Linked DNA regions of Homo sapiens: regions 1 and 2 are each linked to region 3. The links are contacts of gene promoters, found by promoter capture Hi-C in blood cells and fetal thymus (Javierre and others, 2016). All regions are on one chromosome and are shown on one strand. The core of a region is centred on a gene start or on the middle of the fragment in contact, and the rest is flanking DNA. Distances in the headings are between cores, read along the strand shown. Region 1 overlaps ARHGAP26 (Rho GTPase activating protein 26). Region 2 overlaps ARHGAP26 (Rho GTPase activating protein 26). Region 3 holds the start of YIPF5 (Yip1 domain family member 5).

What was found. Contacts are between HindIII fragments. The CHiCAGO score rates a contact against its expected background, and 5 or more counts as called.
Region 1: a fragment that was not itself captured here is called in contact with the fragment with the promoter of YIPF5 in region 3 in 6 of 17 cell types (naive CD8 T cells, naive CD4 T cells, total CD4 T cells and 3 more); the score reaches 9.2 in naive CD8 T cells.
Region 2: a fragment that was not itself captured here is called in contact with the fragment with the promoter of YIPF5 in region 3 in 2 of 17 cell types (naive CD4 T cells and fetal thymus); the score reaches 7.0 in naive CD4 T cells.

Annotation. Positions count from the first base shown.
Region 1 is chr5:142,998,369-143,001,878 of GRCh38, reverse strand. The region is part of intron 11 of ARHGAP26 (Rho GTPase activating protein 26); the gene reads right to left. Among named protein-coding and RNA genes, the nearest start is that of ARHGAP26-AS1, 130 kb to the right of the region's middle. The HindIII fragment of the contact is 4,886 bases long and covers 1-3,510 here.
Region 2 is chr5:143,018,460-143,021,901 of GRCh38, reverse strand. The region is part of intron 12 of ARHGAP26 (Rho GTPase activating protein 26); the gene reads right to left. Among named protein-coding and RNA genes, the nearest start is that of ARHGAP26-AS1, 150 kb to the right of the region's middle. RefSeq lists enhancers at 1,677-1,886, 2,307-2,356. The HindIII fragment of the contact is 2,362 bases long and covers 274-2,635 here.
Region 3 is chr5:144,169,002-144,172,141 of GRCh38, reverse strand. YIPF5 (Yip1 domain family member 5) reads left to right here and starts at 1,483. Exons shown (of 6, transcript NM_030799.9): 1 at 1,483-1,607; 2 at 2,177-2,296. The coding sequence starts at 2,187. It overlaps KCTD16 (potassium channel tetramerization domain containing 16), which reads right to left and starts at 1,269. Exons shown (of 4, transcript NM_020768.4): 1 at 1,133-1,269. RefSeq lists an enhancer at 1,342-1,621. The HindIII fragment of the contact is 8,610 bases long and covers 1-3,140 here.

The DNA of each region.
Region 1 (3,510 bases), core at 149-2,648, 1.2 Mb after region 3:
GCCAACTCGTATGCATGCAACAAGAGATTCTGAGAATATTCACTCTTTTATTCTGTTGCTTTGAGCTGGCAGTAAAGGGTATCCCCAGCACTGTGATCACATGGAGAATCTCAGTATTCTCCCACAACTCCCAAGGAGCAGAATGAGGTTTCTAAAATGGAACTGTAGATTCTAGAATTCTGCACTCTGTGTGGGTCCCCCACCTCCATCACAGGCAGAATCCACTCCACTTCCGACTCCAGGAATAGTGTGACTTAGGCCAGCCAGAACAGCACATTTACTCCCAATCCACATACCCTTATAAAAATTCTCAAACATACAGAAAAGATGAAAGAAGAGACAGTAAACATGCATATACCCATCACCTCCATTCTACAGTTGTTCATATTTTGCTATATTTGCCTTATCACATATCTAGCCATCTTTCTATCATCCATCAGTCCATCTTGCTTTTTAATAAATTTTAAGAGGAGTTGCAGATATCAGCACTTTTAAACATTTCAGAACACATATCATCTAAAGTTCAATATTTGTCCATTTTTAAATGTAAAATGTACATACAATAAAATACATAATTCTTAAGCATGCCAATCATGAATTGTGACAATTTCATATACCCATGTAAGCTAAACCTCTATCAAGATAGAAACATCAGCTCAGATAGTTCCCTCAGACCTCCTTCCATCTTACTCCCACCCCTCACACACCCCATGCACTGGCAACCACTGTTCTGTTTTGCACCCCCAATTAGTTTTGCTTATTCTAGATCACTATACAAACAGACTTACATCATATATATTCTTTTATAGCTACTCTGTTTCACTCAGCATAAATTTTTTTTTTTAAGTTCTGGGATACATGTGCAGAACATGCAGGTTTGTTACATAGGTATACATGTGCCATGTTAGTTTGCTGCACCTATCCACCCATCATCTAGATTTTAAGCCCTGCATGCATTAGGTATTTGTCCTAATGCTCTCCCTCCCCTTGCCTCCCATCCCCCAACAGGCCCTGGTGTGTGATGTTCCCCTCCCTGTGTCCATGTGTTCTCACTGTTCAACTCCCACTTATGAGTGAGAACATGTAGTATTTGGTTTTTTGTTCCTATGTTAGTCTGCTGAGAATGATGGCTTCCAGCTTTATCCATGTCCCTGCAAAGGACATGACCTCATTCTTTTTTATGGCTGCATAGTATTCCATGGTGTATATGTGCCCCATTTTCTTTATCCAGCCTATCATTGATGAGCATTTGAATTGGTTCCAAGTCTTTGCTATTGTAAATAGTGCTGCAATAAACATACGTGTACATGTGTCTTTATAGAATGATTTATATGATTTATAATCCTTTTGGTATATACCCAGTAATGGGATTGCACTCAGCATAAAATTTTTAATATTCATCCATGTTGTGGTGTGAACCAATACCTTTAGTCCTTTTTACTTCTGAGTTGAAATTTAATGTTTGAATATACCATAGTTTTATCAATTCCTCTGTTGATGGACACCTAGGTGGTTCCCTGTCTGTAGCTATCATAAAGCTGGTCCAAAGGTTTTTGTACAAATCTTTTTGAAGACATGTGTTTTCACTTCTCTTAGGTAAATACCTAGGAGTGGAACTGCTGGATTCTACAGTAGAGTTTTTTGTTATTAAACAGAAAACTTCCAAGCCTTTGTCGACAGTAGTTGTGCCATTTTACTTACACCCCCACCAATAATGTATGAGAGTTTGGGTTGCTTCACATCCTCACCAGCACTTGCCAATCTTTTCATTGTGTTGTCAATCTTCTACTTTTAGCTGTTCTAATGGGTATGCGTAGCAGTATCTTATTATAGTCTCAAACTGCATTTTTCTGATGATCCATGATGTATACTTTTTCATGTATGTATTGGGCCATCTTTTGTCCGGCGTTTCTTCAAGTCTTTTTTCTGTCTTTTAGTTAGGTTCTTCTTTTTATTACTGAGTTTTATGGGTTCTCTATACATTCTGGATATGTCCTTTGTCAGATATATGGTTTGCGAATATGTCCTCTTATTCTACAGCTTGCCAGTTGATTTCTTAATGGTGTCTTTTGATAAGCACTAGCTTTTAATTTAAATCAAGTCAATTTTTTTTCATGTTTTTGTAGGGCTATCACTTTCTATGTCCTATTACATAACTTTTGCCAATCCCAGATCGCATAGATTTTGTCCTATGTTTTCTTCTGAAGGCTTTATAGTTTTAGATTTTATGTTTATAACCTACCTTGATATTTTTTTAACCCCCACAGCAGCCAGAAAGAAAAATTCACCTTGAATTAATCCCCCTAGTTAGCCTAGTTTATAAACATTATTTAGAGGTGCTTCTGAGTCATAACCTAGATTTGAAACTCACTGGTTTTAAATACAAATTTAGGAAAAAGTAGCCTTAACCCGCCTCACTCTCCTCTTTCTCCTTCCCCCAAAACAGTTCTCATATTATAAAATTGATTCATATATCCTTTGGGAACCCTCACTATATTAATAAAACTGAGATCTGCCTCCTACCCCCTCAGCTAAAAGGACAAGCAGGTAAGTGTGCTGAGCATTGTAAAGATCTATATGCTCGAGGCTAATTTTCAGGGGACTCACCTAACTACATGGCCATCTATAAGCTATGATTTGAATGGGCAGGGAGCCCTGGGAGCTAACAAGTATAGTGGCCCTAATCAGTCACTGCCTTACTGTGGGACCCGGATCAAACCTCTTCGTCTCTCTGTATCTTAATTTCCTAAGGCATCAAAAGGGGGGCCTGAAACAAACCAGCTTTGAAATGCCATACTCTTAGTCCCTATAATTTTTAATATTTCACCATCATGAATGAACCCCTTTAGGTCCTGAAGGGCTCTCTATGCACTTTAATAATTTCATATATACATTAGGATGGTAACATCTCAAATCTTACCAGCAAACAGCAAAATTGGGATCTGCTGACAGTTGACTAGGAATAAGGTCCTGCAAATGTTGGAGGGAGTAGGAACTGGAAAGGAAAGGGACAGCAGGTTGGAAAGCTGCTGATCAGACTAGCTCACCGTCTCGTGTTGCACAGGCCATATTCTGCCTTCTTGTTTCAGTTCTCATACTGTAAACAAATGTTCTTTTCCTTTTTCTTTTTTTTTGTTCTTTTTTTAGGGGGTGGGGAAACAGGGTCTTGCTCTGTCACCCAGGCTGTAGGGCAGTGGCTCGATCACAGCTCACTGAACAATGCTCACTGAACAATGTGGTTTAAAGTTGACCTGGATGAAACAGGTTGTTAGTATGTTCACATCAAAAGCTCACAGTGCCTAGCCAAGCCTCTCTTGCTTCTTCTTTAGAGAGAACAAAAGCACACCGGACCTGAGCAACCAACATACATTTACAAACACAGCCAGCAGCCAAGGCAACCAAGTGGACTAAGCCCAGTAGGGTCCCCTCCCCAGAGTGGAGGATGGGAGAGATTAGGGCATGTCTGTCTTGAGAGCATGACAGATGAACGCACAAATCCAAAGGCTGCTT
Region 2 (3,442 bases), core at 205-2,704, 1.2 Mb after region 3:
CTCATAAAGCACCAAGACTGAGAAACAGTAGCAGGTTGTCTTCCTCCCTTCAAGAGCAGTGTTACCAATCCAGCTGGCTTTTCCTTTCCAGTGGGTTTTTCCTTTTGTTGTGGGAGTAACTGGCCTGGCCAGATGATAAGAGTAATAACCAAGAGTAATTAGGCACTTACCAACTAATGTGCAGATACTAATGTGCTGAACTTTCATTCTTACAATGAGTTTATGAAGCAGGGGTATTATTATCCCCATTTTACAGAAGAGGAAATGGAAGCTTAGAGAGGCGCACCACCTGTCCAAAGTTCTACACCCAGGATGCTATTCTACACCAGCCACACATTACTCCTCCATGCAAACCCTCTCTCTAATCCACGTGGCGGAATCTACCCAAAGAGAATGATCTGAGATACGTACAAAGGCTGATGTACAAGGCCAATAACTGATGAAATTAATAACTTTTGAAGCTATTATGAATAACATAGGCCAATGTTATTTGTAATACCAAAAACCTGGAAAGAGCATTAGTCTAACAATGATAAATGATTCAACAAATTAAGATATAGTCCAATGACAGAATATTAAACAACCATGACAGGTGATACTTCTAAACATTTCATGACATCAGAAAATGTCTGTAATTTTTAAAGCAGAATACAACAAGCATATTCAACATAATGCCAGTTAAATTAAAATTCATACTGACATTGACAAAATACATACAAGACATCATTTAAAAAAGGCAAGAAGGAAGTATCTCTGGGAATAATATTACCAATGATTTTTGACTGAATGTTTCAAAATCATTTTGCTGTATTTCTGTAATATTCTACAATGAGTTCATATTTCCTTCTTCAATCACTGCTCTTCTCCCCACCTCCCAGTGTGAATGACAAATTGGCAAACTGCAGTGGGTTCTTCAGCATTTTTATTCAAATATAAAGGATTCTTATAAAAGCACTAGATTAGGCCAGGTGCAGTGGCTCACGCCTGTAATCCCAGCACTTTGGGAGGCCGAGATGGGCGGATCATGAGGTCAGCAGATCGAGACCATCCTGGCTAACACGGTGAAACCCTGTCTCTACTAAAAACTACAAAAAAATTAGCCGGGCGTGAGGGCGGGTGCCTGTAGTCCCAGCTACTTGGGAGGCTGAGGCAGGAGAATGGCGTGAACCCGGGAGGGGGAGCTTGCAGTGAGCGGAGATCATGCCACTGCACTCCAGCCTGGGCAACAGAGCAAGACTCCATCTCAAAAAAAAAAAAAAAAAAAAAAAAGCACTAGAGCACTAGATTAAAAACAAACCACAAGGAAAGAAAGGACTAGGACTTGGATGCAAAGAGGAGGAAGTGTTATATTTTTTCTTCTTCTGGGGAGGAGAGAAGGGAGGAAATTTCCATTTTTCAAGTGTAGCTCACTCTCAAATCCATGAGCTCTGGGCATGTAGTCTGCACCCTGGGTACTTCTGTAGATGGTTTGAATATGACATACACCCACACGATGTAATTGGGCCATCTGTCTATTGTTCCCCTGTGGTCTGAACCTCCACAGCAGATCACATGAGCTTTAAAGGTAGAGACAGATGTGTGTTCTAGTTATGAGTGTCCTTACCTCTCGGTACTCATATATCTCAGTGCCACCTGCCCTTAAGAACTCCCAGAAGGCTGGGCGTGGTGGCTCATGCCTATAATCCCAGCACTTTGGGAGGCCAAGATGGAAGGATCACGTGAGGCCAGGAGTCCAAGAACTTCTAGAGGCATTCACTGAAGGAAGAGCTACAGGAAGCCTGGACTCCTGCAGTTTCATCCGGCACAAGATCCAGGTGGGAGTAACAGGAAAATGTTGAACAAGAGTGAGAAGTGGAGTGAACTACAAAATGGCATTCTGAAAAGCCAGATGGCCAGTGTTAAGCCAGGTCCTGACATGCATGAGAAGGCATGCCTGCAGCAACTTCAGCATATTCCTTTCAACATAACCCGATTAACCTATGGAATCTGAGTTAATACCCACATTGAGGAAAGTGGCACTATAAAGTCAAGATTAGGAGACTGAGCCCTCTCTGCCTCAATCTGTCAGACTTCAGCCTTCAAGCAGCTGGAGAAACAGTGGGAGGGCAGCATTCTTGTAAACAAGCTAATCTTTTTAGAGTTAAGTAGGCAGTGACATTTGTTATTTAAAACATCAAACTTGGAAAAGACCAACTCACACTGTAAGAGCCTGCCCTTCTCTTACTCCCTTGCACTGGACTGGTGTGTTCTCTCTGACAAGTTCTCGGCTTTCTAACCTTCCCTCAGGTGGGACGGCAGGACAATAGCAGCCTGAGCTGAGAACAGGCCTCTCATCCTGCTTCCAACCTGGACTCATTACAAAGAAAAATGAACCAATTCTCATAGTCTTTGGGGAGTAAATTTTATAACTCCCTAAAGATATTCCCTACCTTGTACCCAAAGGTAGGGAACAGCAAAAAGACAAAAAGACATCGAGAGATACAGCAAACGGGGCTGCAGCGGGTGAGATGGGAGAAATGGTTCTTGCCCAGGGAAGTCTTGTTCTTTGTAATAATGAAAGGGACGAATCAATGACAAGTATCAGATAACTAGGTGACTGACACTGGCAGTGACCACTTCCTCAAAAAAAAAAGCTTAAGAAGAAACAATATCATACTTTCTTCTTCTTTATTACCAATACTCCCTTTTTCCCCTTCCCTTCTCTACTAGGTAAGAGTTTGACAAATTAGAGAATCTGGTGTCACTGATATAGATTCCTGACATTCTAGAAGCAAATCCAGGAAGGGTCCCCATGGGTAGCAGGGCTGGCAAAATAAAATATTGGTTTTTAAATTTAGTATTTAGGGATTAACTTGACCAGGAGCACACACGATCTCTAGGCAGAAAAATAAAATCCTAATAAAAAACACTGGTGGTCTGAATAAATGGAAAGACATTCAAAACCCTTGGAAGACATGACTTAATATTACAAAGGTGTCAACTTTCTCCAAATAACCTGTATGATTCAATGCACTCGCAAAGAAAAATTTTATTTTAGGGGAAACTTCTTAAACTTATTATAGAATTTATACAGAAGGATAAAGACTCATAAATACCCAAGTCAAACCTCAAAAGGGAGAATAAATAGAGGAGACTTATATAACTAGATATTAAGAGTTGCCTCAAAGTTATTATTAAAAACAGAGAGGTATTGGGACAAAAACAGCTACACAAAAAACCTGAATAAAGGGCTCAGAGACAGAACTAAAATATGCAAACCTAAAATGCAAGAACACTGGCACTACAAATCAATCGAGGGAAGAATGGATAGCTTAGTAGATGTTGATAGGAAAACTAACTCTTCCCAAGGATAAAAATAAGAATGGATCTTCATGGAACATCTCATACAGTGGTGGAAATCAGCTAGATTAGAAACTTAAATGTGCAAGACACACTCATAAAG
Region 3 (3,140 bases), core at 234-2,733:
TTTTCTGTTTGTTTTATTGGGGTGGGGGGTGTTGAGAGAAAAGTTTTAAGTGAAATTTTATTGTTCCTTTGGAAACTAGTCCCCAACAATGGTCTGGCTTCTTTTGTGAGGGCCTCAGGATTTTGATCCCAGAATATAATGCAGTGGCTCATGATAAATTTTATTGCTATAAACCCTGAAGAAAGTTCTGCTCATTAGTTAATAGCATCTTATTTCGAGTCACAATATTCGGGATTCCACCATCTTGGGAAAGTGATTTAACACAGGAGCCAAAGCAATCATTTTCAAAAGAAAACAATTTAAACATCACTCATCAGTTCACAATCTTCACTTCTTTTAGAACCAACACACAAATCCCACAGGATATTTCCTGGCCCCTTCCTGTTATTCCAGCCTCAACTCCTATGTGGCTCCCCTCACTTGCTGTTCCAGTCACTCAGGTTCCACTTAGAAGAGTGGTTGACAAATTCAGCTAATGTTGCCCCCACCGCCCCCAAGGACATTTGGATTTGGCAATGTCTGGAGAGATTTTTAGCTGTCACAACTTGGTGGTGATGGTGGTGGTGGTTGGTTGGGGGGAGTACTGGCATCTAATGGCTAGAGATTAGGGATGCTACTGCTAAGCATCATGCACAGGGCAGCCCCCAATAAAGAAACATCCTGACTCAAAATGTTAATAATGCTGAAGTTCAGAGCTCGATTTTCATCTTTCCTCAGACCATGCTTCCCAGATCTTGCACACATTGTTCTCTTTGCCTAAAATATTCAGGCTATTTTCCCTTATCCTCCTTTCCCGTTGCCCTTTCTTCTCTTTTCTGGTCTTCTCTAACTCCCACTCACCCTTTGATAACCCTCTTATAGTGGCTTTACAGACTCTTCTTCCCAGATGAATGTTACTCTTTCAAAGAATTATGGAACACTAAAGAATATTAGTAGCAATTTCACATGCATTTGTATGTGTTCGATTACCCCTCTCCACCACCAACTCCAGGTGGGTAGATGTCACCTAGCTTATATTTACCACAGTATCCCCAGCAGCTAGCACAGAATGAATGAATACTTAATAGCTTCACTTACAAAAGGGAAATAGGGTAACCATCTCATTAGGTTGTAAAGATTAAATAATACATACAAACACTTTAGCACAGTGCTTGAATCACAGTAAATGCTGACACCGAGGCATTGTAGGCATTGTAGTTTGTGGACAGGAGAGGGGACTCCGTCTGTCTCATTTTAGCGCCTCCCAGTCTTCCTCCATCACCTAGGTCTGAGAAACTCCTCCTCCTACCTACGAGTAAGCAGCAATTGCTACGCCTGCGCTTTCCTGGTTCCACCCCTAACCAGGCTGCCGGAAGCACTTTCCTCTTTGGCACGGGCCAGCCGCAGGTTGGGTAGATACTGCGCAAGCTCCATACTCGTGTCTCCTCCTCCCGCCCACCGGTGCCCAACCTGCTAACACGCCTGCGCGAGCGGGCGTGCCCCGGAAGCCGTTCTTTGGCCCTGTGACACGTAGCAACGGGGCTGGTTCAGGGTCTGAAACAGAGTTTGGGGGTTGTTTGGGATTAGTGAAGCTACTGCCTTTGCCGCCAGCGCAGCCTCAGAGTTTGGTGAGTGACCCAGGCCCGTGGCACAGTGTTCAGCTTCTCTCCACACCCGTGCAAATGGGCTTGTTGCCGTCTTTCGGCGCCGCGCCCTGGTCCTTTCGCTCAGACCCTCGCTCTCATTCAAGCCCTTGCCCTGACGCGGTCCCCTGCACCTCAGGCGCGACCTTCCAGATTCTGCACTTTTTCCTGGCAGGCCGCAGGCCTTATTTTGCAAGGAAGCAGTCGCCTTGTCAGCTGTAAAGCCCAGTCCTAAGGTGAAAAATCATCTTTGTTGTTATTGATATTTTAGACCGCTTATGGAACCACAACTCCCACGACCTCGCCCCTAATGGAAGGCATATCAGCTCTTTAAGGTGGAGTTGTCTTACTGGGCCGCAACTTAAAAGAATATACATTTTCTTACTCTCTCTCCGCTACCGTCGTTCAAATGCTGCGTACTTTCCGCCCCCATCCCCTCTCCGAATTACTGAAAAAATATTTGTTGTGTTTCTATTTGCTTAAGCAGACTGCCAGGAACGAATTCAGTAGAACCTTGGGCATAAGGAATATTTGCCATTTCTCTTTTATTACAGATTATTTGCAATGTCAGGCTTTGAAAACTTAAACACGGATTTCTACCAGACAAGTTACAGCATCGATGATCAGTCACAGCAGTCCTATGATTATGGAGGAAGTGGAGGACCCTATAGCAAGTAACTTTTCATCTTTGGCAATTAATTTAGTCTACATTGCAGTGAAAACACATATTTAGAATATTTGGTTCTGCCTAAAACAATATGTGAACATGTCCTTTATCAGGAGTATGATCTTTCATGCATAATCTTCTTCCTCTAGAGAGATATGTGACACTGGCTTGGCTTCGAAGGTATTGTTCTATTTAAGAGTTGAGTGTCTTCTGCAAACTCTTCAGGTGTACCATGAATGGAAAAGTAGCTTGTTTGAAGAACTGTTTTCTAGTAACAGTATTTCTGTATTTAGAAGATGATGGGAGCTTCAGGTACCTAGGAGATAGGCTGTTAGTTCATAGGACCAGTGAAAAATTAAAGTATTTTGTTAGTAGTTAAATCAGTCCAACTCTGAGACTTTTATCAGTGCTAATTGAAAGTGCTTAGTGACATTATTTAATGATGTAAGCTCCTTATTACGAATCATCAGGCGATTTTCATACAGCAGTTGATAATCATTTTTATTACTCCTCCTTCTCAAACCCTTATGGTCAGTGCCACACGTGTTATAAGTTGCATACTGAGGAGGTTGACTCAAAGCCGTTAGCCTCTGAACATTTTTTTTTAAATGATCTTTTTATAGTACCTGGTGTTTGTGACAAAAATACATGAACTGAAGGCTTTCTAGCAATCTCACCTAAAACATCATCTCCTTAGTTTCTTAGGACCCTAGAGATAATCTTATCAGCTTCCTGTCAAATAAAGGAGCTTCCTATACTAGGATTGCTTAAACTTTTTTAGATGGTTCTGGATCTCTTTGAGAATCCTATTACAACTGGGCCTCTTTCCCATAAATACATGCATTCACTCA